Linked DNA regions of Homo sapiens: region 2 is linked to region 1. The links are contacts of gene promoters, found by promoter capture Hi-C in blood cells and fetal thymus (Javierre and others, 2016). All regions are on one chromosome and are shown on one strand. Each heading gives the region's core, a stretch centred on a gene start or on the middle of the fragment in contact. The rest is flanking DNA. Distances are from core to core; before and after follow the strand shown.

What was found. The method cuts DNA at HindIII sites, captures the fragments that hold promoters and counts their contacts. A CHiCAGO score of 5 or more calls a contact.
Region 2: a contact is called between a fragment that was not itself captured here and the fragment with the promoter of OR10X1 in region 1, in 1 of 17 cell types (M1 macrophages). The highest score is 5.3, in M1 macrophages.

The regions. Positions count from the first base shown.
Region 1 is chr1:158,577,803-158,582,763 of GRCh38, forward strand. It overlaps OR10X1 (olfactory receptor family 10 subfamily X member 1), which reads right to left and starts at 2,097. Exons shown (of 1, transcript NM_001004477.1): 1 at 1,117-2,097. The coding sequence starts at 2,097. The coding sequence ends at 1,117. The HindIII fragment of the contact is 11,722 bases long and covers 1-4,249 here.
Region 2 is chr1:158,941,031-158,945,991 of GRCh38, forward strand. It overlaps PYHIN1 (pyrin and HIN domain family member 1), which reads left to right. Exons shown (of 9, transcript NM_152501.5): 5 at 947-1,369; 6 at 2,760-2,948; 7 at 3,845-4,012. Among named protein-coding and RNA genes, the nearest start is that of PYHIN1, 12 kb to the left of the region's middle. The HindIII fragment of the contact is 525 bases long and covers 2,344-2,868 here.

The sequences.
Region 1 (4,961 bases), core at 847-3,346:
CAAATTTAGGTTCAGGATCTTGAGTCTAGACTTGACGTAACATCCTCTGCATCCATAATAAGGGAGTAAATAGTATTTATTTTTGAGACTTTTAGCTTCCCTAGATTGAATAACCAATTGTCGGGAGTGGAACCAAAGCAAAAGAAAATGCTTGCCACTAAGGAATGGCTGCAGATTGAAGGTAGCAGAGATTTTTGTCTGCACCTGTATCATGAAAATAATCCCAAAGAAAGAGTGTCATGGTCAGGGGTAAACTTAATCAGTTAATGTGCATAATAAATTTATCCACTATTTCATTTATTTCATAACATTCCCATAAGTAACAGAACTCAAAATTACATCAATACTCTTACATCTCTTATCAGAAATGATTTGTCTCATGGGAGGTGCATTTCAGTGCTTCATAACATTTGCCTAAAAAAAATCCTTAACTTTTACGTCTATTATTATTATTATTATTATTATTATTATTATTATTATTATTTGAGATGGAGTTTTGCTCTTGTCACCTGGGCTGGAGTGCAATGGCATGGTCTCTGCTCACTCTGCCTCCTGGGTTCAAGCTATTCTCCTGCCTCAGCCTCCCGAGTAGCTGGGATTACAGGCACCCACCACCATGCCCAGCTAATTTTTGTATTTTTAGTAGAGATGGGGTTTTACCATGTTGGCCAGGCCGGTCTCAAACCCCTGGCCTCAAGTGATCTGCCCACCTCGGCCTCCCAAAGTGCTGGGATTACAAGCCTGAGCCATGGTTGACATCTTTAGATATTTAAAACATCACTCAGTGCAGTGGATTTATATGCTGTTTTTTCCTTCCACACTTTTTACTCAATTCATGAATACTGCAGGACACCCGGAAGTTGATTATCAGAATCTTTTATCTGCAGGGACATTCTTCTTCTGATACTGGATAGTAGAAGGGTTGGACAGCTTCTCTAACAAGCTAAGTAGATGCCTGTGGCTACTTAGTTCCCAGTCTGTGTCACTTGCTTCTTACATCCCAACCTCTGGAACAAGGCAAATGGTACAAGTTTCTCCAGGGGTCACAGGATAAATGCCCCTATTGAATTCTGGGGACATTGAGCCCTTCTTCAAACAAGCAGCAACAACCCAAGATTATTTTTTCAAGGCAACTGTGTTTCCCATCATTCTTCTAAAAGCATTTTTCATGTCCTTATTCCTCAGGCTGAATATGATGGGGCTGAGGAAGGGGGTAATGACAGTATAAGGGACTGCTATGAGTGTGTCATCTCCTGAGGCTTCTGGCTTCAAATAAACAATAGATGCAAAACCAAAGTGGATTATAACCACGGTGAGGTGGGAGGCACAGGTGGTGAAGGCCTTCTGCTTGCCCTCAGCTGAAGGGATCCTGAGGACAGTAGAAATAATGAAGACATCAGTCAGGATGATGAGCAGAAGGGTACCCAGCAAACCAGACACTGAGATCAGTGTTATAATGAATTCTGTGTGGTTACTGTCTATACAAGACAGCCTAATAACTGCCAGCATATGGCAGAAGAAGTGTTTGACAAGGTTGGGTCTGCAGAAAGAGTCCCTGAATATCAGTGCAGTCTCTGTAAGAGAGATAAAGAAGCCTGCAGTGCAAGCAGAGGCCACAAGTTGTCCACATACAATGTTGGTCATAAGCAGTGGATATCTTAGAGGGTTACAGATGGCCAGGAAGCGGTCATATCCCATCAAAGTGAGAATGATACAGTTTGTGCCACCAAGTCCCAAGAAGAAGCACATCTGTAAGCTACAACCTGTGACTGAAATGCTTCTGTCCTTGGCCAGTAGATCTTCCAGCATCTTGGGGACGATGGTCAGCGTATAGCAGGTCTCAGAGAAGGAGAGTGCACTAAGGAAGAGATACATAGGGGTGTGGAGGGACCTGTCCACCCAAGTTAGACCCATGATGATCAGATTACCTGCAAGGGTGAGAAGGTAGAGACAAAAGAAGACCACAAAAAGAAATGTCTGTACATGTGGGTACACAGAAAAGCCAACAAGAATGAATTCCTTCAGGATTGTCTGGTTGATCTTCATCGTTTGAATGTCTGAAATTTGAAAGAAACAACAATAAACATTCAACACCATTATCTTTTGATACCATCAAAGGAAAATTGTGATGACTAAGATAAATCATCAGAATTACAATTACCAACTGCTTTTTCTTGTAGTTTAGCAAAACTATGTATATGTAGGTAATGTGTTTTTCTCATTTTTCATCCATTCATTTTTTCCTTTATTCAGCAGCTAATTAGTGATGACTTAGTATATGACATCACTATGTATATGACAAGAAGGCTTGCTCTGGCCTATTTTTAAAAGGATTTTATGAGCATGTGGTATAATATGGGAGGAAACACTCCAGTTGATGCTCAGATAAAGGAGGTTCAGATGCATTAGGTGAGCTTTATTTGGATGAGCTTCTGAACACAGAGAAAACTTTTAAGTGGCTAATAGAGTCAGGGTCCAACACAGAAACTTCCACACAATGTATGGTCTATAAATATTTACTGCGTAAATATCAAGAATTGATTTCCAAGTAATTTTAGGACAAAACTTGGACAATCACTTGCAATTGTTGGAGAAGCCCAAAGTCATTAACCCTTCTTGGAGAATATATTTAGGTCCTAGAATTTTAAAAGAAAGTTAAAAAAACATGTGTCATTATTTCTGCTCTGAGAAGAGGGAAAGAAGAAAGATAGGGTAGCCTAGGACTCTTAGGATTAATAGTAATTAATTAAATCTGTGGATGGTTTTGATAAGCAGACTATACAAGCATAGTGCAGGTGGCAATTGAGATTGTGTCTATTTTGTTAATTCCCAGCTCAGCATTCAAAGAAAATAAGTGGCATTTAATAATTGTATAAATTTTTCAATAATGCTACATCTGATTTAATCTCATAGTCCTCTGATTTCTATAGCATGTTGTTAGTCCCTATATTTAACACATTGTTTCAGCCCTGTAGTATATTGAGCTACTGTTTTCCCTGCCCCATATGTCAACATATTTAATAACTAGCATTTGTGGGGTTTATATTTTTCCAAATTATTTCAAATGTTTATTGATTTTACTCTTCACAGCATAAATATAAAGTGAATGGGACGGTTGCGAAATGGGTAGGACAAGTGTGATTACTTATTTTAGAAATAAAATTATGTCTTGGAAGTGGCATATTTGTGACTAGAAGCAAAGAGATTTGACTTGAATTGTATACTCTTTTCATTTATCAATGCTTAGTGCTTCAAGAAAGAGACCATAAGTCTTATATTTTTGTATTTTTCAGAGTAATAATATGGAGCACTTTAAGAAGGTAATAATTCCTGGTGAATGTTAGATGGATGAGTTAATCATCAAAAAAGTGCTTAGTATATAAATGATTTTTGTTTTCCTTTGTTATTCAGCACTGTATAGCATTTGATTTTTGAGCATGGAGGTTAACAGACTTTCCACTCTAATTAGGTTTTGTTTAGGCTAAGATTAAGCATTCTCATGGCAGAGTCTAACTTATCACTGACAGTCAGAAGACACAGTAGAAAAAAGGTCTGAATTATAAGTGGTTCCTAAAATAATCCACAACCCTTTGGACTCTACTTTAAAGGTCCCTTTGGTTCTTTGTCTTCTTAGACCTTACAAGTTTCTTACTCTCTGACAGTCATACATGAATCACATGACTTAATCTTTTCTTATCTCCTATCAACTCTTTCTCCATTCTGTTTCCCTTTCACTTACTGTATCTACTCTTCTTAGTGAGCAGTCATTTCCCAATAAGAAGACCATTTTTCTGTTCTCTTACCTAAGGGAATATTATAGAGGACCATGTCTATTATAACCCGGGGCTTCCTCTTGAGGCCTTTTGGTGTGAGCCTCTTTAGTAACCACATTCAGTACGAGTATCTTTGGTTTCCAAATCTACTTGCAGATGATTGTTCCACTTTTCTCTATGATCAGCTTTCTGCTACATTTCAACTGTTCAGAGGCATCTTTTTCCTTCCAGAAGTATTAGGCTTCAATAGGTTCCTTCTGCTTATTCCTAAGCCACTGCAAAAAATTCCTCCTATCAGTAGAGCACTTCATACACCAATGCTCCCAAGCACTCTTGACCCTTCACAGTAACTCTGTAAGAAAGGAAATTATGTGGATTCTACAACTAAAGGATTAAATATAGCAAAGGGTAAATATGAAATAGATTAGCAAAACAATAAGTTATTTTAGTACTTGATGGCCTTGGTACAAAACCCAAGCTTTTTCTAACATACTACCAGAAAAAAAACAGTCTGATTTTACACGTGTTCTACCTCTTCCAACACAGCCCTGGGATTTGAGGCAGGGACTAGGGGGCAGCGAGGGGGTTGGAGGAGGTGCTGTTTTTAAAGTCACCATTAAATTCATAAGCTTTTTGAAAATGCAAATAATCACCAATACAAATTCCAAGATAGGTCTTTTCTTATCTAGTCCTTACTTGACTGTGTGCTAAATATTTCCTTGGTGAATCATCAGCAGTAGAGTATAAATGTCAGAATCTCCACTTCTGGTATATTCTAAATGTGTGCGTGATTTTGTATGTGTGTGTGTGTGTGTTGTGAGGATATTATGTCCCACCCTACCTCATCTATCTCTGAAGTTGTCCCTAAATCCACCTGTGTCAAATTTAATTTGGGTTATGAATCCACTGACATATATATATGTCATATATGACATATACGTGACATATATATATACACACGCACACACACTCGCACATACACACACACACTTTCCAAAGAGAAATGGTGATATGGAAAAGATATGTAATGTTATCCCAATGACCGTTTCTTTTTGTAGTGACAATTAGTTATGAGGAGAAGAGAGTAAAACCGTCTAAAATAGTTTCCTACCTTGTTTATTTTATCAGGCTCCAAAGCCAATTAATTCACTGTCACGATTATATTCTTCCAAAAGATAATCTTCACAA
Region 2 (4,961 bases), core at 1,356-3,855, 360 kb after region 1:
TTGTGTTGGGAAAGGACTTTTCTGTTTTAGGCTGAATGGGTCACATGGATGAAAAGTCAGATCAAATAAAGTCCAGTCACTCACAGATGATCACTGTATATGGTATTCCAGATCAGACCACTCCAGGAGCTGCTGGTTTGTGAATGAAACAAACCTACCTATTCCTCCAGTGCTTTTTCTTGAAATTGAACAACTTTCCCTTCATTAATGTGTTCTGCTGCAAATTAAGGAAACCTGGATGTTATAGAGAAAGGATATTAAAGACAATCCACTCTGATCCTTGCTTTTCTGTCAGCATGCTACCTCCTAGAGCCCTGACATTGAGAAAGACTGCAATGGTGGTAATGACACTCTGTAGAGTGTCTGTAGCCTGAACCTACTGAGATGAGGGCATTCTGAGGGGTTTAGCCCACAGGTGTTCTCACCTGCTTTAACAGCATTTATCTTAGGCAGGAAAAGTATGAGTTGTATGCTAAAAATTGCCCTGTCTACATTGGTAATAACTAAACACTGTTGATGTATGTGGTTTGTGGTGGACACCCTTTACCATTTTCAGCGCTATTCAATTGTATTTTGTCTATTTTTATGCTCTGGCATTTTAAGCTGGTAAGAGTAAAACTACAACTCATTATTTTATCCTAAATTTATTTTAAGTTAATTCATGATGATTGGCTCAGCATCCACTTGTCTTTTGTTGCTATTATATCTTACATTTTAAGGATTATTCTGTTTAAAGAAAGTCTTCTTTTACTATGTGGTCTCCTATATTACTTCCTCTGGCTATGAGACTACTTCAGAATATCCTCTCCTTCCCTGTATCCTGGCCCCAGCTCTACACATCTACAACTTTTGGGGGCCCAATGTTGTGCCTTGAGGTCACTGAAGAGCAATTCTGTATTCCTCACTCAAAAATTTCTTTTTTGTATTCCTTTTGTATCATGCGCAGAGCCTAAAACCATTGGCCAACCGTCACGCAACTGCCAGTAAAAATATTTTCCGAGAAGACCCAATAATCGCGATGGTACTAAATGCAACAAAAGTATTTAAATATGAATCCTCAGAAAATGAGCAAAGAAGAATGTTTCATGCTACAGTGGCTACGCAGACACAGTTCTTTCATGTGAAGGTTTTAAACATCAACTTGAAGAGGAAATTCATTAAAAAGAGAATCATCATTATATCAAATTATTCCAAACGTAATAGTCTCCTAGAGGTGAATGAAGCCTCTTCTGTATCTGAAGCTGGTCCTGACCAAACGTTTGAGGTTCCAAAGGACATCATCAGAAGAGCAAAGAAAATTCCGAAGATCAATATTCTTCACAAACAAACTTCAGGATATATTGTATATGGATTATTTATGCTACATACGGTAAGGCATCAAAGCTATTTTGTGGCATTTTCTACAATAACACTTGAAATTAAAAGCCCTGATGTGCTAAATGGAAGTTTGCATATTACTTAACATTAAAACTCAGGACTCTCTCAAAACTACTGACAAGTAGATAAAGTCTTCTTCGAGGTTAAGACCAGGATTAGGAGAACTATTAATGTTCTCATTCTTTCCAAAATATCACCCTGAAGTTCTTTAGTAAAACATTCACTGAGAAACCTTGAGACTTCATCAGCTGTGACTATCTATTATGAGTCATAACGATCAAAGATAGTGAGGGATCTAGATCCATACAAACATAATACTAAACTTATTTCTTTGATTATAATCTCAATTGTAGCAAAAATCACATTGTTTTCATTTTGAATACAGTATTGTTCTTTGAGGCTTGAGTTCCAGTTTTGACAATCAGGGCAAGAAATGAATTGACTGTTTATACCTGGAAATCAATTGCAGTAAACAGGTAGGACAATGTTCTGACCAAATGAAATGCATTCATCAAAAAGTATTGAAGGGCTGAGAAATATAAATTTGGGTGATACTTGGAGAATCAGGTAATCTGTACTCGTATATTAGATATGTCGCAAAAAAAGAGCAGAAAAAATTTTCTGATATGTTACTGTCAAAATTCACGAAACTAGTTAGCTTGAGACATTCCAACTCAGAAAACCATCTATACCTGGCTATTGAGTCCAGTAATTTCTTAGATGACTGACAGCTCATGATCTGTTATATTTATTTTCTAGAATGACCTCTTATTTTACCAGCATTGCTTTCTGTACACACTCTTAAAGAAATTCTTAGAAATACACATCCAGAACGATGAGTAATAGCCTTGATGAGCAAGAAATTGGAATGTTTGAGCTTAAGGACCTGAGTTCAGGATGGGAGCAGATGTTGAAAGAGATTCAGTAAATGGAGAAAGTCAAAAAAGTAATTAGATAGTTACTAGAAGCTTGTTTTTTATTACAGATTCCTCATAACATAGTGAATGATGAGTTGTGACAGATGCCCATTCTTTTTGCATAGGGGCAGAGGCCAAATAAGCCTACCAAGGACTTCAGTTTCCTTTGTATCAAGGTGCTTTGGGAAGCATAGCAGTCTTGGAGGTGAAAGAAGTTGAAAATGGGAAGATAACTCATTGCTCTAGAACTGTAATAGAAATACTTAGAACATTAAGGACTTAAACAAAAAGGATATTGAGGGAGAGCTCTGTGAGATGGTCTAGACTAAGGCATATGTATTGTATGTCGATACAGTACTAGGAGTTGCTGTCTTGCATCTTGTTTTTAATCTGTCACAAGAGACTTTCCTATATGCACGGTAGTTACTATGTTCTCACAAACATGATATTAATTTTTTGTTGCAGAAAATTGTAAATAGGAAGACGACAATCTATGAAATTCAGGATAAAACAGGAAGTATGGCTGTAGTAGGAAAAGGAGAATGCCACAATATCCCCTGTGAAAAAGGAGATAAGCTTCGACTCTTCTGCTTTCGACTGAGAAAGAGGGAAAATATGTCAAAACTGATGTCAGAAATGCATAGTTTCATCCAGGTGAGAAATAAAGAAACAAATATTAGTTTTCCAAAGATGAAAATCATTTGCTTTAAGTTTTAGGAAGCCATACTTCTGTTGTTTTACACTTAAAATTCTGCAGAGTTCATGAGAAACCAAATAATGCCCTTGCGCTTACATTTAAATAGAGAAAATTATTAAAATATATTAAGAGATGGACAATTATCTTCTTCAAAAAGACATGAAACTTGTGCTAAATATTAAAATATTTGAAGAAACTAGGAGGCCACGGGCCTAATTGCAGTTAGTTATCAAAACCAAGTTCTTTGCAGTAAGATAGGCTTGGTATATATCTTGCTCATTGGTTGCATGATATTGGAGAAATAGCTTACATGTTCCTCACACAATTGGTTTGAAAATTAAATGAGATCATGGATATACATTTTGTAGCCCATTGCCTTCCTTGTACCTTGTGACAAACCAGTATGCACTAGATACTACTGCTCTTAACAAGGTAAAGACAGACATTGGAAAGACTTCAGGCAGAGAAAATGTTGCATACAAACATTAAAAGTGAGAAAAAGCATAGTGAGTTCTGTACAACTTTGGCATATGTGGAAAGGTATGAGAAATTCATGCAAGACAGGTAACAAGCAGCCCTTTTCTCATCTGTCTTATGCCATAAAGACAAAAATGGATTTCATTTTAAAAAATAAGTGAATAAAGATTTTATTTTACTAAGAATGTTAGATCATTTTACATTTTAGCAAAAAAATATATTGGCAGTTGCCTGGAGGAATACATTAGATAGAGGCAATCTTTGAAGGTAATGACATCTATTAGAATTTAATAAAGGATGATATTCTCACATATTTAAAGATGTTTTGCTTTCCCTAATATTAAAAAACATTAAACAAAAAAATGAATACTTTCAGATACAGAAAAATACAAACCAGAGAAGCCATGACTCCAGGAGCATGGCACTACCCCAGGAACAGAGTCAGCATCCAAAACCTTCAGAGGCCAGCACAACCCTACCTGAAAGCCATCTCAAGACTCCTCAGATGCCACCAACAACCCCATCCAGCAGTTCCTTCACCAAGGTACAATATCCTGGGTCCCATGACTCTTATCTCCCAAATATAAATTACAAGGATCATTAGATTGTTGAAAGAGTTTCTCTTCTAATCCCTAACTGTGTACAATCTCTAGATAAAATTAAATCACCCATGTATTTATTGAATGCATACAGTGAGATACTACCACATGATAGTCTTTGCTATCTAAAAGATATTTATTTGTGCAACGATTGCTGACCACAAGAGGGCTAGTATCTTGTCTTGCTCCACCTATGGGAGGGGTAATGGCCAGAGAAGTAGAGATGAAGACAAAGAGTGTGTTATGACCCACATTCCAATTTCTTTCACAACTTTCCCCTTTGCTTATTGGTATTATTTCTGAATTTATTTTCAGCATTCCAAGTTGAAATAAATATTCGAAGTATATATTTGGAAACATGCTATTTCATTGTTGGGAATCTATTTCTCCCATCTCATCACTGGCAAGAATTTCCTTAAATTTCAGACACCAACTTAAGTATTTTCCTCTGGCAAGTCCTCAATGATACAAGATAGCAGAACTGTTGAGTCCTCCTATTGTTTGCTTTTACAGGGCCTCCTGTCAATGAGAGTAAAGTACTAATTTCACAGAAGTGAACAGAGAGGCTTATCATATAAGATGTTTTCCATACTTCCTTGATCTGGGGTTTCCCTTAATAGGGTCAGTGTAGCACATGATATATTTGTAGAAAAGAAAAAAACTACAAGTCCCAGCATAGAACATGTAACGACAATGTTCTGTGTTTGAGCATTTAACTAGGTGTTTGGTCTTACATGTTGTTCCTGATGTACATTATCTCATTCCTTCTTCATAACCATCAAGAGGATGCTACTTTCTGTCCCAATTGACATAGAAGAAAATAGACACACTCAAACATAAAAAAAAAGTCTTCCTCAAGTTCTCAAAGACAGTGTTAGAGTCAGGATTCATATC